Linked DNA regions of Homo sapiens: region 2 is linked to region 1. Evidence: promoter capture Hi-C in human tissues and cell types (Jung and others, 2019). All regions are on one chromosome and are shown on one strand. The core of a region is centred on a gene start or on the middle of the fragment in contact, and the rest is flanking DNA. Distances in the headings are between cores, read along the strand shown. Region 1 holds the start of RPL10L (ribosomal protein L10 like). Region 2 holds the start of MIR548Y (microRNA 548y).

Region 1 (6,757 bases), core at 1,080-3,579:
ATTAGTAGGAAGGATTTTTAACAAAAACAAGTAAAAGTGCTTGTATGTCAACGTTTAAAAAAAGAATTTATATATAATCTTTATAACGTGAAACTGTGGGAAAATTCAAATAAAAAATTTATTGACAGCTACCTACCAGTTTTTAATGCATTAATTCTTAATCATTCATTTCCTCTTCACTCCCATATCTATATGCATAAACAATTACTGTTACCAATCTCTTAGGGCAAGGAAGTTCATGAGCTTATACTTAACCTCTCTCCCTATATATTTAGTTGAGTGCAGAGTTCCAAGTTTGAAGGTCAAGATGTTTTGAGAGGTTTAAGACCAAAGAGAAAGGGAAATAATGAAGATGGAAAATATTTTCAAAGCTGGGCCATGGTTGTACTAGAAGCTAAGGGGTTGCTGATTTTATTGTGTTTTGTATTGCCTTTCTCTTTTGATTATTATTATTATTTAGAGGTTGAATTTTCGTTTTTGAAAGTGTGGTAAAACGCAAACATGAAAAACGTCTTAAAATAGCAACATAGCTTAAATATATACAAATAGGAAATATCTTATAGCAAGGGCCTAAAATAAATATCCAGCCAGATACAATATGTTAAGACTGACATAGCATTTCTTTAAATAAATGAAAATTAAATAGTAGTGTTTCTTACTATTTCTTTTGTTGTTTTCATTAAATGTGTTGACTTTGAAAAAGAACCGTTAGTCTAAAAACACTGAAGGCACTGTTAGCAGGATTGAGATTCAAAAGGCTAAGTCAATTGTAAAGAACAAGAATTTTTTTTAATGCAGTACAAACTCAGGAATTTTAGCTTATGTAGTTTCAAAAATAAAACAAAAAGCACCTGTGTCATCAACGTAACTCTAATTCAGGGCAAGCACCTACAATTGCAAACTCTCTTTAGGGTCCTTTTATAGCACAGATAACCGATTTAGTGTCATTTTCTCTCTTCTTTTGGTTCTACTGGAGCCCAGATACAAGTAATATGAACTCTGTTGTCACCTATGACCTTTCTATGATGAAAAAAAGATTAGACTGTTATCTCTTGACTGTGAGACAATGTAAAGTTCGTCTGGAAAAGCCTTTCAGAGTGATACTCAATTGTCCTAAGGCTGATAATCAGACGTGTAAGGTAATTCTAAAAACAATGTACAGAAATTTATAGAAAAACATAAGGCAACCAAGTTTAGAAATAAATTACTTCCAAAGAGGCTGTGGGTGAAATATCACTAATGCCTACTATTATTTTCATCGCTACTGTTTAGTTTATATTCTATAAACAAATTTTTTCACTCAAATCTATTTTTTATTCAAGGAATGATAGCTGCATAACTTATGACTTTACTACAAACAAAACTTTCAACATATTGCTCTATACTCTCCTAAATTTAAAGTGTTTGCTTAAAACAGCTTTCTCTATAAATTGTATAGTTTTACTGAAGCAAGGAAGGTAACATTTGCCATTAAAACTGAATAAATAGAAAAAAATTCTCTAGTAGTCTATATTCTAAAACATTGGATATTTAAAAAATATTAAAACTTAATAAGGAGTTATTTTTTGCCAGTAAACAGAATTTATTAGTAAGCATAAGTCAGACCAGCATGGCCCAAGGAGACAGTACTGCCAAAACCTTCATGAGTGCAGAACCCGCCACTTGTCCAAGGGGCCATGACTGGGAACGTACTTGACTCCACAACCATCAGGGATGAGGCACTTCTTGGCCACCATGTCTTCAAATTCGTCAGCATTAAACTTCGTGAAGCCCCACTTCTTGGAGATATGAATCTTCTGGCGTCCAGGGAACTTGAACTTGGCCCTGCGCAAGGCTTCAATCACATGCTCCTCGTTCTGAAGCTTGGTGCGGATGGACATGATGACTTGACCAATGTGGACCCGGGCTACAGTACCCTGGGGTTTTCCAAAGGCACCTCGCATACCTGTCTGGAGCCTGTCAGCCCCAGCACAGGACAACATCTTGTTGATGCGGATGACATGGAAGGGATGGAGCCGCACTCGCATGTGAAAGCCATCTCTGCCACAACTTTTCACCATGTATTTGTTGGCACAAATACGGGCGGCCTCCAGGGCTTCAGAAGACAGCTGCTCATATTCATCAGACACCATGTGGCCACCGAGTGGGAACTCATCCACTTTTGCCTTCTTTCTACCCAGGTCAAAGATGCGGATCTTGGCATCAGGAACCCCTCGGCAGAAACGAGATTTTGGGTACGGCTTGTTCTTACAATACCGGTAACAGCGAGCTGGACGGCGCCCCATGGCGACACAGTAACGTCGGCGGTGCCTCGAAGTCAAAATGCGCTCTCTTAACTACGCCTGCGCGCATTTATATACGTTGCCCCTCGTCCCTCGCGGGAACCATAGAGTCCTGAGGCCGGAACCATAGAGTCCTGAGGAGGATGTGACGACTCTCTTTCAGGACGTCCCAACCAGAGACGCAGGGACGTCTGGCGCCTCAGCGCCTGCGCCAAGTGGCGCGCTTAAGGTGAGCAGAGTCAGCTGTGGGTAGACTCCCCCTGGCGGCCAGGGAAGGAATTGGGCCCCGCCCCAACTGCACAGCTGCTGCTTCCTTTCTGCTAGCCATCTTGGGCTAGGAACTCTTGCTTTCAGCTTTGCTTTAAGTATAAAAGAGGTTATTTCCAGGCAGGAGAATCTCTTGAGCTCAGGAGTTCGAGGCCAGCCTGGGCAATATAGTGAAATGCTGTCTCTACAAAAAAAAAAATATATATATATCAAATAGCTGGGCATGGTGGCACATGCTTGTAGTCCCAGCTACTCAGGAGGCTGAGGTGGGAGGATCGCCTGGGCCCTGCAGGCAGAAACTGCAGTGAGCTGAGATAGCACCACTGCACTCCAGCTTGAGTGACAGAGGGAGACCCTGTCTAAAGAAAAAGAAAAAAAGAAATCCTAGAATTTGAGAGGAAAAATCCTTCCAGTTATTCAACATGCTGTTTCCAGTTTGGTCAGTTCATTTTCCAGAGCTTGTATCTCACTGTCAGCATTTGTAGATCAATTGCTGTTTCTTGGGTTATGTGGCCACCTTCCCTGGATAAAGTGGTTTCTTGGCATGAGTGCTTTGATGAGACTCAGGAAGAGATGAGAGGAAGAGAAGAGAGAGGGATAAAGAGAAGATATCTGTTGTATCTGTAGCTTGGCAATTGTTTTATAAACATGAAACTTTGTTTTTTCTTTATTTGGCCTAAAGAAATGATTTTATTATCAAAATGATATATACAAAATTGAAACACCAACTAGATTTTTTTTAACTTAAGGCTATTTGCATTTTCAAATGTTAAAGCTGCTGAAACTATATAAAAGAGTAACAGTTTGTGTTTTAGTAATCTTTTGCCCCTGAGAATAAATTTAAACTTTTTTTCTTCTCAGAGTTTGTAAAAATATTATGACAGGGATCAGAGTGTAGGAAAGGAGGAAGAAGAGAGAGGAAAAGAAATTAATAGTTTACAAACCCTACTTGCATTTTTCTAGTTTTCTTTTTTGTTTTAATGTTGTTTCACAAATCCATTACATCATGGAACAAAATCCCCCCAATGTGAATATATTCTGTCAATACTCTTTGTTTTAAGGGAGAAAAATAACTCCTGCCCTTAAAGTGAGTGGATTTTTACAAAATACTAAAGATAAAACAATTAAATCTCCCAATGTAGAAAACTTTCTGACCTTTAAGAAAGCTTTCTCACTTCCCTTTTCTTCCTTCATTTCTTCTTTCCCCTTTTTCTCAACTAGTTCCTGTTTAACATATTGAGATAAAGTAGCTAATACCATGTTGCTCTCACCAAGCTTACAAGCCTAGGAGAGGATATAGATACTTCTCATATATCATCATATTACCAAGTGTAAAATGTGCCAAAAAGGAAAAGCAAAGTAAGCCCTGAGACTGTGGGATGAGGCTGGGGATGAGACCTTGATCCAGACTGAGGAATAGACAGGAAAATCTTTATCAGAAAAGAAATTTCATGTAGTGACCATGGCACATGGGGTCTGATGTATAAAAGGCCTGAAGCAGGCAGAAATATGGAACATTTTAAGGAACTTAAAGTCAGGCCAATGTGACTGTGAGTGAGAAAATGAGTCACATAACATGAGCCCAGAGTGTGTGTATGTGTGAGAGAGAAGGGGTCATGCTTTCATACAGGGCCCATTTTACCAAGTTAGGGATCCTGATCTTTAATGTGAGGCCATTAAAGAGCTTTACTTAGGTTTCATCACTCTGGTTATGGTATGGTGAATAGACTGAAACCAGCCCAAAAAAGGTATGCAAGGAGATCAGAAAGGAAGACTTCGCAATACTGCAGAAAACACACTATAACTTGAACATACTTTAAAATATTTGACTTTATATACAAGTTAGTATCTTTTTTATACTACTACATGCTCTGAATCTATGATCGCGCCTCAGGGAGAGGTGTTTGTGAGGCAAAAGGAAGACGCCCAGAGTTTATGTGCCACGACACACTCACTTCCACTTGTCTGATCTCCCACCTGTCTAATGTTGCCAAAATGCTAGAATTATCTGACCAGCAGATGCTGTTTTGCTGTGGGGGCCTGTCTACATAAGTTTCTTTCTTTAATCCAAAGCTTGAGCAATCCTGGTTTGTCCGGGTCTGTACCAGTTTTAACATTCAAGTCCTAGGTCCTGCAAAACCCCTTAATACCACGCGAAGTGGGAGGGTTGGCCACCCTACTCCACTCATGCATGAGGCCCTTCACAGTTGCAGATTAGGAGGGAGGAAAGAGGAAAGGGAGGTCCACACTGGGATCCTCTGTTTATACTTCTTTTCCTAACCTTGCAGATATAAGAGGAGATCCTGTGGAAAAATGCATGAAGCACCACCATTCTGTTGAAATATTACAAGCATTCCTCTTAATCAATTCCAACATTTTGAGAGTTTCCCTACCTCTCTACTCTTGCCATCCACAGTGTACATCATGCTAAGCAAACCTTGCAAAAATATATAAAACTTGTCTGCTTTGAGATATATAGCTAAGGGAGACACTAATATCATGTATAATAGAGATGGCTTAAAGAATGGGTAGAACATTCACAAGTAGAAATATGGGATATGGTAGAAATGAAGCAACACAACTTCATAAAACCATTAAGAGATATGAGAACAGAAATATCTCTACCTGGTTCACTGTTTTGTCCCCTGTTTTTGGCACATTGTGTGACGAGTAGCACAAGGAATACACACACTTCGGAGGCGCGGTGCGGTGTTAATAAACATTTAACAACCTGCTCTTAGTGGAGGTCAGGATTTTGAGGAGAAATCCCTGATTTGTAGTGTTTGCTGATTGATTTGGTAGAAATACTTTTCCCGTCATCAGTTTCAAACATCAGTGTGATTTACTGAGCACAAAGATGGGGAGAGATGTGCACTATCAGCTTCTGTAAGCTAGTGTTAGCCAGCTCCAGCATGCTGCCATTTGGTGTGCATACACAAGACAGAAAAGACAAACTTGTCTTTTGTTAATGCTAATAATGCATATCCTATAATAATACATTTTGGAATGATCAGGGAGAGATCTTTTTTAGGAGCCCTTAGAAAGCAGACAGGTACGAATACTTAAACTTGATTCAGCTTTGACTGTGAAACAGTTTCCCTCTGTGGTTTCTCCCTCCGGTTTCACAACCCTTAAGAGGCCTGCGGTATTCTTTACTTATTGATTGTAAGTACTTTACTTATTGATTACTTACTTGTAATTAGCACTAGACAGTGTGAGAAATACAATCAAATTCCAGATATCCTCTGTCTTCACGCAAAGGCTGGAAAAGAACAGTTCTGTGTATTAGTTCAACACAGCATTTACTTTCCTTTTTTGATATAATCTTTCAAATGTTTCACAATGAGCTAAACCTGACTTTGTTTTCAAAGGGGAACATGCACTGGAGTCTAATGAGTTGAGTGGCACACACCATGGATGCCCTCTCCTGCTACAGGAAGCATCTGCATTGTTGATCATTCAGTCATTATGTAGAGTACCATCATTGGGTGCTTTACAATATACTGCGATTCATAAATCATGTTCCACTTGGACTCTGAATGAAGTGTGAAGGCTCCACTGATGACTAACAGTCATTTTCATCTGGATTTCTTAGTAACTTCACACTGGGGGCTGTAATCTGAATGTATTTGAGAATAGGTGAGCAATTTGACTGTCTATATACAGTATTCCTAGAGTTGAATCATGAATATAAAAGAGCCATGGTTATGGCTGGCCTTTTCTTCAAAGCCAGTGGATTGTGCCTATTGTCATGGCTAAAGAGTGGTCATGCTGCCTGTCTCTCATGCACTTGATTCACAGTGGTCTCTTATCTATTGACAAGAAAACATGTAGAAATGCACATTTTTTGAACAGAAATATATTCAGATAATTTTAACTCTTTAGCCCAGCGCCCTAATACATTTTCCTTTTTGACTGGTGTTTTCTACATTCTTCTTCTTCTTTCTTTGGGAAGCTTTTTTTACTTTGGATATAGGAACTGAGCATGTACACTTACCTTTGTAGTTTGCTTGTAGAGAATGAGTTCCCCCCAAATGAATGACTTTTGACATTGTTCCAGAAAGCTGGAAAAAAGTAGGAAAGTATTAAATCAGGGAGAGGTGGCACAAAAATATGCTTGCTAAAATTTCATTGATTTTTTTTCCATATACATTTTAAATTTACTTGTTTAGGTTTCATACTTGTACAAAATGTATAAGCCATTAATT
Region 2 (6,757 bases), core at 1,549-4,048, 1.1 Mb after region 1:
TCCCTCATTTTACGTCCATTTTATCTTTCAGACTGTGTGCGCTGATGACTTTAGGCTCAGCACTAGACACAGAAACAATAGTTTCACAAAGACTTTTCAACAGTTTCCACAAATATATAAGGCAAATCCCTATTACAAATCCCTTATTATACACAAATCTGGTGGTACTGCTTCTCAGATCAGACTCTGACATAGAGACTATAAAATAAGTAGCTTTAAATTGAATGAAGCAGGAAAGAGGAAATCAATTACTATAAGAGATAAGGTGACATAAAAAGCAGATATATTTGAAAAGAGGCCAAATAGAAGTTATAAAATGAAAAATATATTAAATAAGAAAAACCTTCTAATATATAGATTTATATATATATAATATATATAAATCCTGAACAGGATATGGGTGGCTTTGACAAAATTCCACATAAACAGTAGTTCAGATAAGATAGATGTTTATTTCTCTTTCTTTTTTTTTTTTTTTTTTGAGACAGAGTCTCGCTCGTCGCCCAGGCTGGAGTGCAGTGATGCATCTTGGCTCACTGCAAGCTCCGCCTTCCGGGTTCACGCCATTCTCCTGCCTCAGCCTCCGGAGTAGCTGGGACTACAGGTGCCCGACACCACGCCCAGCTAATTTTTTGTACTTTTGTTAGAGACGGGGTTTCACCGTGTTAGCCAGGATGGTCTCGACCTCCTGACCTCATGATCCGCCTGCCTCTGCCTCCCAAAGTGCTGGGATTACAGGCGTGAGCCACCACGCCCGGCCTATTTCTCTTTCATAAATTGTAAGCATTTCAGGACTTCGATGATAGATAAGACATTTCCACATTGTCAACAAACCAGATCCTTTATTGTAACTTCCTCAATTAGCTTTTTAATCAGAGTCCAGCTTGGATGCTCCACATCTGCCATGTCTGCACCCCCACAGTGAAGGTGTTACTAGGTTGGTGCAAAAGTAATCACGGTTTTTGCCACTGAGAGTAATGGCAAAAACAGTGATTACTTTTGCACCAACCTAATAGTTTAGGCTGCTGTCACAAACTACTATAGGCTGGTGGCTTAAACAACAAACAGTTGTTTCTCATAGTGCTGGAGGCTAGGAAGTTCAAGATAAAGGTGCTGGCAGATTATGTGTCTGTTGAGGCTCACTTCTTGGTTTATAGACTACCAAGATCTTATTTTCATATGAAGGGAAGAGAGCTAGCTACTCTATGGCCTCTTCTCATAAGAGCACTAATCCCATCCATGAGAGCACTAACAGTATTACTTCATCGACTCTGAAAGGTACCACCTCCAAACACTATCACATTGAGATGAGGGATTACGGTTTCAACATATGAATTTAGGGGGCCACAAACATACATTCCATTGTAGTGGGAAAGAAGAATGGGAAGACCTACTCTTTTCCTTTTAAAACTGTGATCCAAATGTTGTACATCAATTTCACGTATATACCATTTAACTGACCCAAAGTAGCTGCAAAAAGTGCTGAAAAATGTTATATTTAGGTAAATGGACACATATTCAGCTAAAAATAGCATTACTACACGAAATATATGGATATTGAGAAAGCAAATAATAGACTCCGACACGATGATTAAAAAGCAGATAATTCTCAACAGGCAATTAACAGAGAGAAAGAGCTGAGGATTTTACAGTTACTAAAAGCAAGTTTAAGAGATAAATAAGATAATAGATTAAAATGGGATAGATTCAATGAAAGAATAAGAGGGAATGAGATGGTAATGATGATTTTTTCAAAATCAATAGCATGAACCTAATATTTGAGAAGCACACTGGATCTGCTGCAAAATAAGATGAAATTACACACACACGCACAGACACACACACACACATACACACACACACACACACACACACACACACAGTGCTAAAACCAAAACCAAACACCCAAGACATAAAGATCTTCAGAATCAACATAAATAACTTATGAGGAAAACTACTAGCTTCTTTATAAAATCTACATTTCAATGCACTGCTGTGGTTGCAGGGAAATAAGTAAATCTCCAAGCACCCCTTAAATAAACAACCTAATAAACATGCAAAAAATGACCTGAATCCTGAGATAGAATCAAAGAACAGTGCGCTACCTGCAAGACACAAATGGGAAAGTTGGAGCTAGCCTGAGACAAGTGTTGAAATTAGCATTGTGTTCCAGAGACTAAGCTTGAGGGAGCTGATCCTGGAAACCTGGCATTATGTCAGCAAGCCTGGTCCCAGGTCTTACTACATCAAACTCCTAGCAGAGATAATTTCAAATTCTACCCTGGAGAAAAAGTTGACCCTAGGATACCTAAAGATTAAGATTAAAGAAATCAAGCCATGGTGAGTGAGACAGCAGAAACAACAAATAGCAAACATCTAATTAAGACTCCCAATGGCTTCAGATATAGAAATTATCAGAAATTGAATGTAAAATGCTATATATGAAATGTTTAAATAAATAATAGGTGAAATTACAAAATCAGTAAACACGAAAATGTCAAGAATGAACAGACACAGAATTTTACTTCTGGCCATGCTGATTAACAGAGACAGGAGCTTTCCTAACATTATAAATATCTGGAAAACTTGGAAAATGTATGAGTCAAATTCTTTCAGATATAGGAGATTAGGCAATTTAGGATTATGGTCCAAGGGAAGTGGAAACAAAGTGAGCTCTATTAACTGCCTGGAACTACTTTCCAACCTGTGGTGCAGAGGGGGTCACTAGCATGATCTCACTGAGTTGAGTAAACAGAGATCAGAGTTAGGGAAGACTGACTTACCTGGAATATTGAATGTGTAGGACACATTACCAGTGAGAAGGAAAGTAGGTGAAGGAGGAGCTCCAGGAATATGCACAGGGGTCTCCTTGAGAATGTTCTAGGTACTAAGTTGTACATGCATGGGAAAAGTCAAAGGGCTGGGAGCTTTAAGCTGAAGGACTCCCAGAGCTCAGGTAGGGCGGGGAAATGTTTACTTCTGAACCAACCAGAATAGATTGAACATCTACAACATTCAGTGGAAACATGAGAAGGTTCAGGCCTTAGTATAAGTGCTAAAGTAGTCCCGAGGTAAAGAATTCTCTAAGTCCAGCCTAAAAAGCTTAAAAGCAAACCTCTAAAGAATCACACTGATCCACAATTACATACTTACTTAGCCAAATGAAATTGACATTTGTAAAAGGATGGCAACAAAATCCAAACACTCAACAATATAGCTCTCATAGTTTGGGGCCAAATTTAAAATTACTGTATATGAGAAGAAGCAGGAAAATGTGAGCCATGACCATGAGAAGAATCAGTGAAGAGAAACAGAAACTGAAAGAATTGGTGGATTTATATGAGTAGGGCTTCACAAAAGCTGTTTTAAATGTGTTCAAAAATTTTAAAAGAAACATGAATAAAAATAGATATGGAAGGTATAAAAATGAAGCAAATGCAAAATTTAGAATTAAGAAGTAAAATACATAAAATAAAAAAGTCCTGATTTTTAATAGTAGCCAGACACTGAAGAAGAAAATGTCAATGAACTCACACATATGATATGAAACTATCCAAACTGAAACACAAAGAAAAATAATAAAAAGCCACTGAACAGTCTCAGTGATGTGTGAAGCAATTTCAAGTGGCACAGACATTACGTGATTGATGATATAAAAACGAAGATGTAAAAATATTTGCAAAAATAATTACCACAAATTTGTCCCATTTTGAATTAAACTATAGACAACTAAGTTTTCAAAACTTAACACACCTTTGCCCTCATATAAAGAAAAAGATAATCACAGTGAGGCACATTATAACCAAATTGTTGAAAAAATCAGTGATAAAAGAGAACACCTTAAAAATAGCTAAAGAAAAATTACACATTACTTACTCAGGAACCAAAATAAGAATATTGGCACATTTCTCATCTGAAATATTACAATCCAGAAAACAATGAAAGTATATGGTTTATATTTATGTGGGTAAATGCATTGTTTCTCCTCATTTAAAAATATTTAGAAATTGTTAAAAGCAAACAGATTATAACAAGTGGAAATAAAGGGAATGTCAACAATAACAATTGTAACAATAAAAGGATGAGGAGGCCGGGCGCGGTGGCTCACGCCTGTAATCCCAGCACTTTGGGAGGCCCAGGCGGGTGGATCACGAGGTCAGGAGATCAAGACCATCCTGGCTAGCATGGTGAAACCCCATCTCTACTAAAAATACAAAAAACTAGCTGGGCGTGGTGGTGGGCGCCTGTAGTCCCAGATACCCGGGAGTCTGAGGCAGGAGAATGGCATGAACCCGGGAGGTGGAGCTGGCAGGAAAAAAAAAAAAAAAAAAAAAAAAGGATGAGAGGTAGGAAGTAGAAGCATAAAATTGTAAGATTCTTATGTTGTAAGTAAATATATGATATTAGTGTGCTATTATTCAAATACATAATATGGTAAGTTTGTAAACATGAGAAGAACTACAATTCACCCTTGAACAACTTGACCCCCATGCAGTCGAAAAATCCACGTATAACTTTTGACTCCCAAAAAACTTAACTGCTATTAGCCTTCTTTAGACCAGAAGCCTTATCAAAAACATAAACAATTGACGCATATTTTGTATGTTACATGTATTATATTCTGTGTTATTAACATAAATTAAGCTAAAGAAAAGAATATGTTATTAGGAAAATCCTAAGGAAGAGCAAATACGTTTACAATTTATTAAGCAGAAGTGGTCCATCATAAAAGCCTTCATCCTTACCTTATCAGCTTCACCTTGAGTAGGCTGAGGAGGAGGAGGAGGAAGGGAGGGGTTGTTCTTGCTGTTTTGGGGTGGCAGAGGTGGAACAGTTGGAGGAGGTAGAAGGAGAAGAAGGAGAGAGGCTGATGCACTCAGTGTAACTTTTATTGAAAAATATCCATAGACAATTGGACATGCACAATTCAAACTTGTGTTGTTCAATGGTCAACTGTGCTACAAAATCAAAAAGTGGGGCATAGTTACTAAGCCAATAGTAGAAATAAAAAAAATTACTTAAAACCACAATATCAGTTCAAAACAAGGCAGGAAAAGTGAAAAAATCCTAAGTAAACAGTAATATATAACATGTTAATAGATTGAAAAATTCAATATTGTTAAGATAATTTTCTTGCATTAAGCTGCAGAACAAGCAAAATACCAATTAAAATCTCAGCAGGACTTTTGTAGAAATTGGCAAGCTGATTATAAAATTTCCATGTAATACAAACAATTTTAAATAGCAAGAGTGATTTTAAAAATTAAGGGCAACGTTGAAGAACTTACACTACTAGATTTCAAGACTTATCATACACTGCAGTAATAGATGGAGTGGGGTATTGGCATAAGGACACATATTTAGATTAAAAGAATAACATAATCTGGAAATGTTTACAAGCATATATAGTCAGTTGTTTTTTTTAATCAAATTTGCCAGTGTAATTTAATAGGAAAAGAATGGTGCTGGAACAATAGAATATCAACGTACAACCACTGACAGCGATTATAACCGTAAAATTTAGGTGTTTTGTGGTTGAGGGCATGATGGGACATCTACAAAATAAAGGACAAAATATTTCTTACTGCACTGCAATAAGATGGAAGTACAACATTTGGTAGTCCTTTTTGGATACAGGAGGCAGCATAGTTCACATCTGAGGATGCTGTACCAGACCATGTATTAGGTAATACAAATGTTTGCATTCATTAGTGCACACTAACTATGGTAGAAGTGCTGAAGCACTAAAAAACTTAGTTGGCAATGATTTGTCCAGTTGATAGCAACCCATGTTTGTCGGGGTTCTCTAGATGGACAGAACTAATAGGATAGTGTCTATATGAAGGGGAATTTATTAGGAGAAATGACTCACAGGATCACAAGGTGAAGTCCCACCATTGGTTGTCTTCAAGCTGAGGAGCCAGGAAGCCAGTCCGAGTCCCAAAACCTCAAAAGTAGGGAAGCTGATAGTGCAGCCTTCAGTCTGTGGTGGAAGGCCCAAGAGCCCCTGGCAAATCACTGGTGTGAGTCCAAGAATCCAAAAGCTGAAGAACTTGGAGTCTGATGTTCAAGGGCAGAAAGCATCCAGCATGGAAGAAAGATGGAGGCCAGAAGGCTTAGCCAGTCTGGTCTTTCCACGTGTTTCTGTCTGCTTTTATTCTGGCCATGCTGGCAGCTGATTAGATTGTCCCCACCCGGATTGATTGTGGATCTGGCTTTCTCAGTCCACGGACTCAAATGTTAATCTCCTTTGGCAATACCCTCACAGACACACCTAGGAACGATGCTTTGCATCCTTCAATCCAATCAAGTTGACACTCAATATTAACCATCACGCAACCCAAGTGTGAGCATGAGGTGCATGTAGACATGGTAACCATGGTGATGTAAGGAAGACTATGCATAAATTCAGTAGCATGGGTTCCCTGTCTCCAACACAAATTTATCTCCTGTTACTGCATGATGTCCATACATACAAGACAATCACTGAGTCCCCCTAATAGCACCATTCTGCGTGGAGACCAATTAGCTGCTGGGTGGTGCGTAGTGGAACAATGGCATGTTAAGTTAAAGATTTCAGTGGGATGCCTAGCTCAGACATGAGACCATACAAAGATGGGATGTCACTTTTTAGGATGTGTATTCTAAATCAACAACCATAATATGATTTTTTCCGAGTAGGTAAAATACATGAGTCTAAAATCAGGGACTTAAAATATAAATAACTTACTTAACATCATCACCAGTTTCTCATTTA

What was found. The method cuts DNA at HindIII sites, captures the fragments that hold promoters and counts their contacts. A contact is called where the count stands out against the background at its distance.
Region 2: a contact is called between a fragment that was not itself captured here and the fragment with the promoter of RPL10L in region 1, in 1 of the 25 tissues and cell types used here (lymphoblastoid cells).

The regions. Positions count from the first base shown.
Region 1 is chr14:46,649,452-46,656,208 of GRCh38, forward strand. RPL10L (ribosomal protein L10 like) reads right to left here and starts at 2,330. Exons shown (of 1, transcript NM_080746.3): 1 at 1,559-2,330. The coding sequence starts at 2,285. The coding sequence ends at 1,641. LOC105370481 (a long non-coding RNA gene) reads right to left here. Exons shown (of 10, transcript XR_001750753.1): 2 at 6,547-6,613; 3 at 5,743-5,811. The HindIII fragment of the contact is 6,030 bases long and covers 1-4,223 here.
Region 2 is chr14:47,760,082-47,766,838 of GRCh38, forward strand. It overlaps MIR548Y (microRNA 548y), which reads right to left and starts at 1,023; the gene lies at 914-1,023. LINC00648 (long intergenic non-protein coding RNA 648) reads right to left here. Exons shown (of 3, transcript NR_039996.1): 3 at 4,872-6,757. The HindIII fragment of the contact is 5,503 bases long and covers 48-5,550 here.